Regions from separate parts of the Homo sapiens genome. Here regions 1 and 3 are each linked to region 2. The links are contacts of gene promoters, found by promoter capture Hi-C in human tissues and cell types (Jung and others, 2019). All regions are on one chromosome and are shown on one strand. Each heading gives the region's core, a stretch centred on a gene start or on the middle of the fragment in contact. The rest is flanking DNA. Distances are from core to core; before and after follow the strand shown.

The links. The method cuts DNA at HindIII sites, captures the fragments that hold promoters and counts their contacts. A contact is called where the count stands out against the background at its distance.
Region 1: a fragment that was not itself captured here is called in contact with the fragment with the promoter of SESN2 in region 2 in 1 of the 25 tissues and cell types used here (dorsolateral prefrontal cortex).
Region 3: a fragment that was not itself captured here is called in contact with the fragment with the promoter of SESN2 in region 2 in 1 of the 25 tissues and cell types used here (dorsolateral prefrontal cortex).

Annotation. Positions count from the first base shown.
Region 1 is chr1:27,760,627-27,763,326 of GRCh38, reverse strand. It overlaps FAM76A (family with sequence similarity 76 member A), which reads right to left. Exons shown (of 9, transcript NM_152660.3): 9 at 211-2,700. Among named protein-coding and RNA genes, the nearest start is that of STX12, 11 kb to the left of the region's middle. The HindIII fragment of the contact is 6,157 bases long and covers 1-2,700 here.
Region 2 is chr1:28,258,241-28,260,940 of GRCh38, reverse strand. It overlaps SESN2 (sestrin 2), which reads right to left and starts at 1,423. Exons shown (of 10, transcript NM_031459.5): 1 at 1,004-1,423. The coding sequence starts at 1,093. RefSeq lists silencers at 513-572, 1,353-1,562 and enhancers at 832-1,680, 1,673-1,852. The HindIII fragment of the contact is 10,821 bases long and covers 1-2,700 here.
Region 3 is chr1:28,753,038-28,755,833 of GRCh38, reverse strand. The region is part of intron 4 of YTHDF2 (YTH N6-methyladenosine RNA binding protein F2); the gene reads right to left. Among named protein-coding and RNA genes, the nearest start is that of YTHDF2, 17 kb to the right of the region's middle. RefSeq lists an enhancer at 824-1,323. The HindIII fragment of the contact is 8,261 bases long and covers 1-2,796 here.

The sequences.
Region 1 (2,700 bases), core at 131-2,630, 500 kb after region 2:
TGAGTGAGACTCTGTCTCAAAACAGTCATAGAAGAGAGAAAGAAAGAGTTTATTCTCTAATGGACAGGAAATTCCCAATTAGCAGTTAGGCTTTTAATTTTTTAAGTCTATAAGCAAGACAAACTTTTCTAGGCTGAAGGGCTGAAGGGGATAACGGGGTATGTCTACTGGTAAACAGCAAGAAATAAAAACAAAATCCAACAATTACACTTGAGTCAATATGAATTTTTATTAACACACATTTGTCAAAGTCTGTACAAACCAAAACATTCCTGTGTTTTAAAATGTCCATTATTACAAACATACAAAGAAACAAAAGGTGTTACCAAAAGTTAGCTACTCAATTTCATGGTAAAACAGTGTCATGATTTTTAAAAATCAAAATTTCAAGACTGAGGTTTCTTCTTTCCCTTTTTGGAACTTATGGAAAGTTAGAAAACGTGTGAATTTGCTTTATATTAAATGCCAAGACCTTAAAAAAAGATTTAGTATAAAACTAAGTATGTTTTTATATTGTCATACATCATGTAACAGAATTTCAGTCCTTAAAATTAAAAAAAAACACCATGACTGTCATTTCCCCCTAATTTTTCTCCCATAGTCAATGCAAATGCATCTGAAAAATATTATGACAGTTTATCTTTACCTAAAAGCTTCTCATTCAAAAACTTTACAAAACTATTTAGCACTGCCATTTCCCTTGCTTAGAAGGGAAAATTATATCCCCTAGTAGGGTGATATATAAGCGACATGGTCCACTGTATCCCTTATCAGAAGGAAACCACCATTTCCACATCTCTGTCCAATTATGTGTAGGACTCCATTTATGAGAATGCTATCACAAATTATAGAGCATCTGCTTCCAGGAAACGCCTAGAAGTTAAATTTAGTACTATAATTTTTTGGTAGACTGAGGTACAAATGTTATCTGCCCTCATTATTATTTCTAACTCTAGTACCCCCTGCATAAATGATTCTAGGGTAGTTGGTTTTGTTGTTTCATGGCACACATGACACACCCTAATTCCTTTCACAAACATCACATAGAGGACCTGAGAGTATGCCTAGAAATGTAAATCTATCCCCTTTCCTGGAAAAGTAAATCCATATTCCTACAGGGTTAAGAAGGGAAGATAGGCAGGGCATACATAACTCTGGTTGAGGCAAAGTGCTTCTGAGAAGCACCTGTTTTCAATACATATCCATGAAAAGCAGGGAGTGTATGGGCTCGGGTGGGTGAGGAGTGGGGAGAAGGTATAGTGATACCACTTTTCCCAGACTCAAGAGTCCTTACTAGAGCAGCTCATGCTGACCCCAAAAATGCTCTGTAGTTCAAATATTATTCCTTTTTTTTTTTTTTTTGAGACGGAGTCTCACTCCATTGCCCAGGCTGCAGTGCAGTGTTGCGATTTCAGCTCATTGCAACCTCTGCCTCCCGGGATTCGAGCAGTTCTCCTGCCTCAGCCTCCTGGGTAGCTGGGATTACAGGTGCATGCCACCAGGCCCGGCTAATTTTTGTATTTTTTTAGTACAGATGGGGTTTTACCATGTTGGCCAGGATGGTCTCAAACTCCTAACCTCAAATGATCCACCCGCCTTGGCCTCCCAAATTGCTGGTATTACAGGCGTGAGCCACCGCACCCGACCATATTATTCCATTTTTAATCTGTTCATTCATGTAAAAAAACATTCTCTGACAGCAGCCCAGTATGACAACTGATATAAGCAAATAAAGGATTTTATTTTTTAAAGAAGTGGCAGTGTGAGAATTTAAAATCAATCACATAAAACAATCAGGAAAGGGGTGGGGAGAGAAGTGTCCAGTACAACCTGGACAACCTTGCTTTCTGCCCTTACTTAAAAAGACAGACGGTTCAAATCTTTGCTACCTCCCTTAAGTATCTCCATAAATGCTCTTCCAAGAAATCCTCCAAAAGGCACTTAGCTCCATACTTATGCATTGAATTGTTTCACCTTAGCAATCAGTTTTTAAGACTCCAAGGTAACAAGAAAGAAAAGATCTGATTCTTTTACTAAAAGCTAGTGAATAGGACTGTTTTTTTTTCAAGAGGCATCACTTTTACAAGAACTAGCTAGACCACCATTATTCCTTTATCAAGAAAAAGTTTCTTTTTTAAAAAATAAATAAAACTCTGGCTATACATAGTACAAAGTTCATACATAATACATCTGGAAAAAAACCGAAGAGTATACCCTGAAGCAAAAGGTTTATTGGAGAGAGAAAGCCTCTTCCATTATACCAAGTCTGAAGATGGCAGTTTTCAAAGTTCAGAGGGTGGCAGTGATATATAATTAATGCCAAACTGTTTGCTCATGGGTATGGCAGGATGCAATGAAGGACCAAAAAAAAAAAAAAAAACAAAAAACAAATCATTCTGCACATTACACTGAGCAGTGACCACCACAAAAAAAAAAAAAAAAAAAAAAAGAAAAAAGAAAAAAAAAGAATAGAACCAAAATAGAGAGAAGAGGAAGAAGAAAAAGAAAAGTCCTAATAGTGAGAGAAAGAGAGCGAGCTTGAAATCCCAAACACTCAAGCATGCAGTCTAACACAGCACAAACCAGGTGTTTCCATTCAGCCCACTGCAATCGCACAAAGAAGGATAACTGTAATAAAATAGAGATTTCTTAAGAAAGCTTGCAATTCCCACAGAACAGCCAGGTCTCCAACCCTAACCC
Region 2 (2,700 bases), core at 174-2,673:
TGGGGCTATAGCGTAGCTTGTATTGCTGGTTTAGTCCTGAGGACTTAGGTTAAAGGCGAAAAAAACTCAGAGCCTGGTATCTAGTAGGTGCATAATAAATGATAAGATGTCCATTATCGCTGCTGCTGGTAGTGGTGGGGGAGTGCGAACTGTCAGTCTGGTTAGGTCCAGCCTAATTCCCGGTCTCCCTGCAAAGCCCCTGCGGGCTATGCCGGGATGCGAATGCGGGGGGGTGGAGGGGAGCGGCGCGAAGGGAGGGTGGGGGAGGAATTTCTGGAAAACAAACTTCTGGGCCTTCAGACCACTTACTTAGCAGGGCGCAGCCTAACCCGCGCTTGGCTTCGGAAGCCGCGACCAGGGTTGTCCCCTCTCCCCCCAGCTTTGGCTGCCGCCGCCGCGTACCGGGCGGCCCGCCAAGCCCCCAGAGCCCCTGCGCTCTCCCTCCAAAGCAGGAGTGCGGTGGACATAGGATGAGGTCGACTTTCACTGGCCAGTCCCAGGTGCCTACGCCCCGCGCTGGGGGACAGGAGCCGGGAGGCACCCCAGGAAGGGTCCTCTGCCCGCCGGCCCCCGCGAAGAGGAAGGGACTCCGCGGAAGGGGGCGGGGAGGAGGAGTGGTCTGGCCGCTCCGGCCGGGATTTGCCTGGACTTGAAGACGCTCAGGAGCCCAAAGCTCGGAGAGCCTCCAGAAGGCTTCTCCCTCATTGGCCAGGAGTCCGAGGGAGCCGAGGAAGGATCCGCGGCCCTGGGGTGGGGCGGTGAGGGAGAGGGGGAGAGGGAGGGAGGAGGGGGAGAGGGAGGGGGAGAAGGAGGGAGAGGGGAGACAGAGTGGGGGAGGGGTGCCGAGGGCCGCGGCTGCCAGTTGATGCAACCCGGGTCCCGGGTTACGCGCTCGGCTTTCCCTCCCCGAGCCCAGGACACACCGACTCAGCTCCGGACAGCCTGAGGCTCAGACGCGGTTCGGGGTTCCAGGGAAGAGGGGCGTCGCGCGGCCGCCGCTTACCTCTCCGGGGCCCGAGTCGCCGACGCCGCCCGGGGCGAACCGCAGGTAGTCCTTGAGCTCTGCGCGGCACTCGGAGTCCGCCACGATCATGGTGCGCGCCAGGACCCGGTCGCGGCTCGCCGACGACCCGTGCACCCGAGTGGGTTTCGGAGGGACGCCCGAATGAAGCCGGGACTGGGCGCCGCCGGGGAGCTTCTAGAACCCCGGGGCGTCTCTCGGGGCTCCAGAACGCTCCGGAATCCGAGAACGGCCGCTTTGGTGCTGGACTCTTCCCCCAGTCGGGCTTCGGGAACGGCGAACGGCCTCGGGGGCCTGGGAAGGGCCGCAGCGCAGGGGTTTTCACGGCCTCGGAAGTCCGCAGGGGCCAGGGCTGCTCCCGGACCCAGCGCTCCTCAGCATCCCCGCCGCGGAACTGCCAGCGCTCGCCGGGCTCTGACACCAGCAGTTCAGCCCGCTGCGGTCCCCGGGGGAGGGCGGGGACACAAAAGCCCGGCGGTCCAGCCAATCAGAGGTCTGTTTCCCCGGGGAGGCGGGGGAAACTCCGCCCCCTGGAGTCACGGGCTCCGCCAATCAGCACCGGGGAGCGCCCGGAATTCTGGGAGTTGTAGTCCGCCTCGGGTGAATGCTGCAAACTTTTGCAAGACGGTTTAGTCAGATCCCTGGCAACACCAGACGGCAGTGACAGCCCTAAGAGTCATTAGGGTTGCGTGATGAAAAGGGACTTCACTGGGCTAGGCCAAACAGCCGAGTGTGAAATCTCCTAAATGAATTCTTCATCTTTTCAGTTCCTGGAGGGACTGGCTAGGGTTAAGAGAGGTTTGGCTCGCGTCCTATCCGGTGCTGCTAATTATAGAACTGAACCCCAGATATTTAGAGGTCAGAGGGCACAACCCTGCTCCCCCTGGCCTCGGGGAAGCTCCAAAGATGCGAGACACAGGGAATTCACCTTATTTGTGGAGCCTCAGGAAAAGCCTTCATTCCTTGAAATGTCATTGGTAACTTCGTGTGGAACCTCAATCCCTATTGCTGGAAGTTTTCTTCCTTCTGCTACCCGTCCTGGCTTCCACCCCTCCCACCCTCCTCGAAACTTTGTAACAAGGTGTTCTGCTGGATCTTTGCTCACCTCTCCCTCTGGCCTTCTCTGACTCCTCTTTCACCACCCACTTCCTAAAACGTGGGTGCTTCCCCAGTTTGTTTTTGCCCCTCTTCCCTCCAGACACTCTCCCTGATCTCATTCACTTCCTGGCCTTCAACTCGCCTCTTGCCAGAAAGTTGCCTCTACCAACACCTCAGCACCTCCAAGCTAAATTCATTTTCTATTCATTTCAAACGGAGCCTCTTCCTTCACAGTTTTCCTTCAGAGCTCCTTTTTTTGTTTCCATTTTAAAGTTATTGTTTATTCTAGACAGGGAATCCTGCCAGGGGTGAGGGTGGATAAGACCCCCAAGTCCCCCTCTGAGACTTCTAAGTCTAAGCTTACAATTCCAAAGATGAAACCGACTTGGTTTCCTGCCTCCAGATTCTTGGGAAAAAGAGATTAATCTCACCCTCCCCTGAGCTCCCAAGGCACTTGAGCTGGATCTCTTTTCACATGTATCACATTCTACCTAGTTTTTTTTGTTTTTTGTTTTTTTGTTTTCTGTTTTTTTGTTTTTGTTTTTTGTTTTTTAGTAAATAGAGACAGGGTCTCAATATGT
Region 3 (2,796 bases), core at 264-2,763, 490 kb before region 2:
CTAATCTGAAAATCCAAAATAGGAAATGCTCCAATGAACATTTTCTTCAGTGTCATGTGTGCACTCAGTTTCAGACTTTGGGGCATTTCAGATTTTCAAATTAGGAATACTCAACCTGAATAGCCCCTTCCTTGTTCTCTTTCTGAAACTCAAACTATTCTCTCTCAATCTCTTTCACTTGCTCCCTCTTTATTCTTCAAATTTTGTTATTTCTGGGGAACTTTTTCCATAGTCCTTTTCTCTCACTCGTGTTGGCTCTAGAACCACGCTGCAGAATTAGAACACCAGCTTTACTTTCGTATCTCATGTGCCTTTGCAAAGTTATTTACTCTTTTCTGTGTTTTAATGTTTTCATCAGTAAAACTGAGCTACTTATACCTACCTCACAAGGATACAAGAATTAAATGAACATACATTTAAATATATATTCAAGACAACTGTATGCTAGACACTGTACAGAGCATTCAATAACTGTTAGCCATTCTTATTACAAGAATCTTTGAAAAGTCAAACTCTTCCATGCCTTTACCTATCCTGAGGGTTGAAAATTCAAATTCCTGTCAACAATCTGAGCTCCAGATTCCCAGCTGCCTACTATCACCTGGCTGCTGCTACTATCACAGGCACCTGAAACTATTTCCAAAAGCCAATACAACCCCAAATCCTAACCCTAAACTGCTGCTCCTCTCATCATCTTTAATTTTTGAAAAACTAGTCAACAAATATGTCTACCACATTCTTCATATCCAGTTTCCCGTTCCCACTGTCCTGGTTCAGGCCCTCATCATCTTTTTTTCCCCAGAATACTGTAAAAGCATCTCGTTTAGTCTCTGAGCCATCTCCCACCCCTTTTTTTTTTTTTTTTTTTTTGAGCTGTCACCCAGGCTGGAATGCAGTGTTGCGATCTCGGCTCACTGTAACCTCTGCCTCCCAGGTTCAAGTGATTCTCATCCCTCAGCTCCCTGAGTAGCTGGGACTATAGGACTATAGGCACACACCACCACTCTTGGCTAATTTTTTTGTTTGTTTGAGACGAAGTTTTGCTCTCATTGCCCAGGCTGGAGTGCAGTGGAGCAATCTCGGCTCACTGCAACTGCCGCCTTCTGGTTTCAAGTGATTCTCCTGCCCCAGCCCCCTGAATACAGGCACCCACCACCACGCCCAGCTAATTTTTTAGTAGAGATGGGGTTTCACCATGTTGCCAGGCTGGTCTTGAACTCCTGACCTTGCGAACTACCCACCTCAGCCTCCCAAAGTGCTGGGATTACAGGCATGAGCCACCGCGCCCGGCCAATTTTTTTTTTGAGACACAGTCTCGCTCTTTCGCCCAGGCTGGAGTGCAGTAGCGCTATCTCAGCTCACTGCAAACTCCGCCTCCAGTGTTCACACCATTCTCCTGCCTCAGCCTCCTGAGTAGCTGGGACTACAGGCGCCCGTCACCACGCCCGGCTAATTTTTTTGTATTTTTAGTAGAGACAGTGTTTCGCCATGTTGGCCAGGCTGGTATCAAACTCATGGCCTCAAATGACCTGCCAACCTTGGCCTCCCAAAGTGCTGGAATTAGAGGCGTGAGCCAACTCACCCAGCCTCATAGATGTTTTGATAAGTTGCTTTCCTAAGCTTCCATTTGTTGATCTATAAATACAGGATACTGCCTCCCAGGTTGGTATGGGGATTAAAGTAAGGCTATGAAAGTACCTAGCATGGTGCTTAACAAGGTCAATGCTCAGTAAGTGTTTCATCCTTCCCATCCTCCAAACTGTTATTCCCTAATTAACTACCCTCCCTTACAACCAAACTAAAACACAGGTAAAGAATAAAATCCTAGGCCGAGCGCAGTGGCTCACACCTGTGATCCCAGCACTTTGGGAGGCCAAGGCAGGCAGATCACCTGAGGTCAGGAGTTTGAGACCAGCCTAGCCAACATGATGAAACCCTGTCACCACTAAAAATACAAAAATTAGCTGGGCGTGGTGACAGGCACCTGTAATCCCAGCTACTCGGGAGGCTGAGGCAGGAGAATCGCTTGAACCTGGGAGGGGGAGGCTGCAGCGAGCCAAGATCGCGCCATTGCACTCCAGCCTGGGGGACAAAGCGAGATTTTTGTCTCAGAAAAAAAAAAAAAAAAAGAATAAAATCCTGAAACTCTTCATATACTTGCCCAACCAATCTCTCCAGCGTTATCACTTACCATTCTAGACCACATTAAACTTCTCATTCTGAAAACATACCATAAGCATTCTCAAGACTATGTTTTTAACATGCTCTTACTAGAATGCCATTTTTTGGAAGACAGGGTCTCACTGTGCCCAGACTGGAGTACAGTGGTACCATCATGACTCACTGCAGACTTGACGTCCCGGGCTCAAGCAATCCTCCTGTCTCAGCCTCCTGAGCAACTAGGACTACAGGTGTGCCTCATCACACCTGGCTGATTTTTTTTTTTTTTTTTTTTTTTTTTTTTTTTTTTTTTTTGGAGAGGCAGGATTTCATTATGTTGCCTAGGCTGGTCTCAAACTCCTGGGTTCAAGTGATTCTCTTGCTGCAGCCTCCCCAAAGTGCGAGGATTACGGGCATGAGCCACTGCACCTAGCCATTTCTCTACTTTTCTATCTGGCAAACTTCATAGATCATGGAGTAGTCCATGAGCTTCGGGGTTAGAGACTCAGTGGCTCTCCAGGTGTAAGTTCCAATATACAAACATGAAACATGTTTTGAGCAACTTCTTTGCTAAACTGGGTAATAGTTTTTCAAATATTAGAATATTTCCTCAAAAAAATTTTTTTTTCTAGGGAC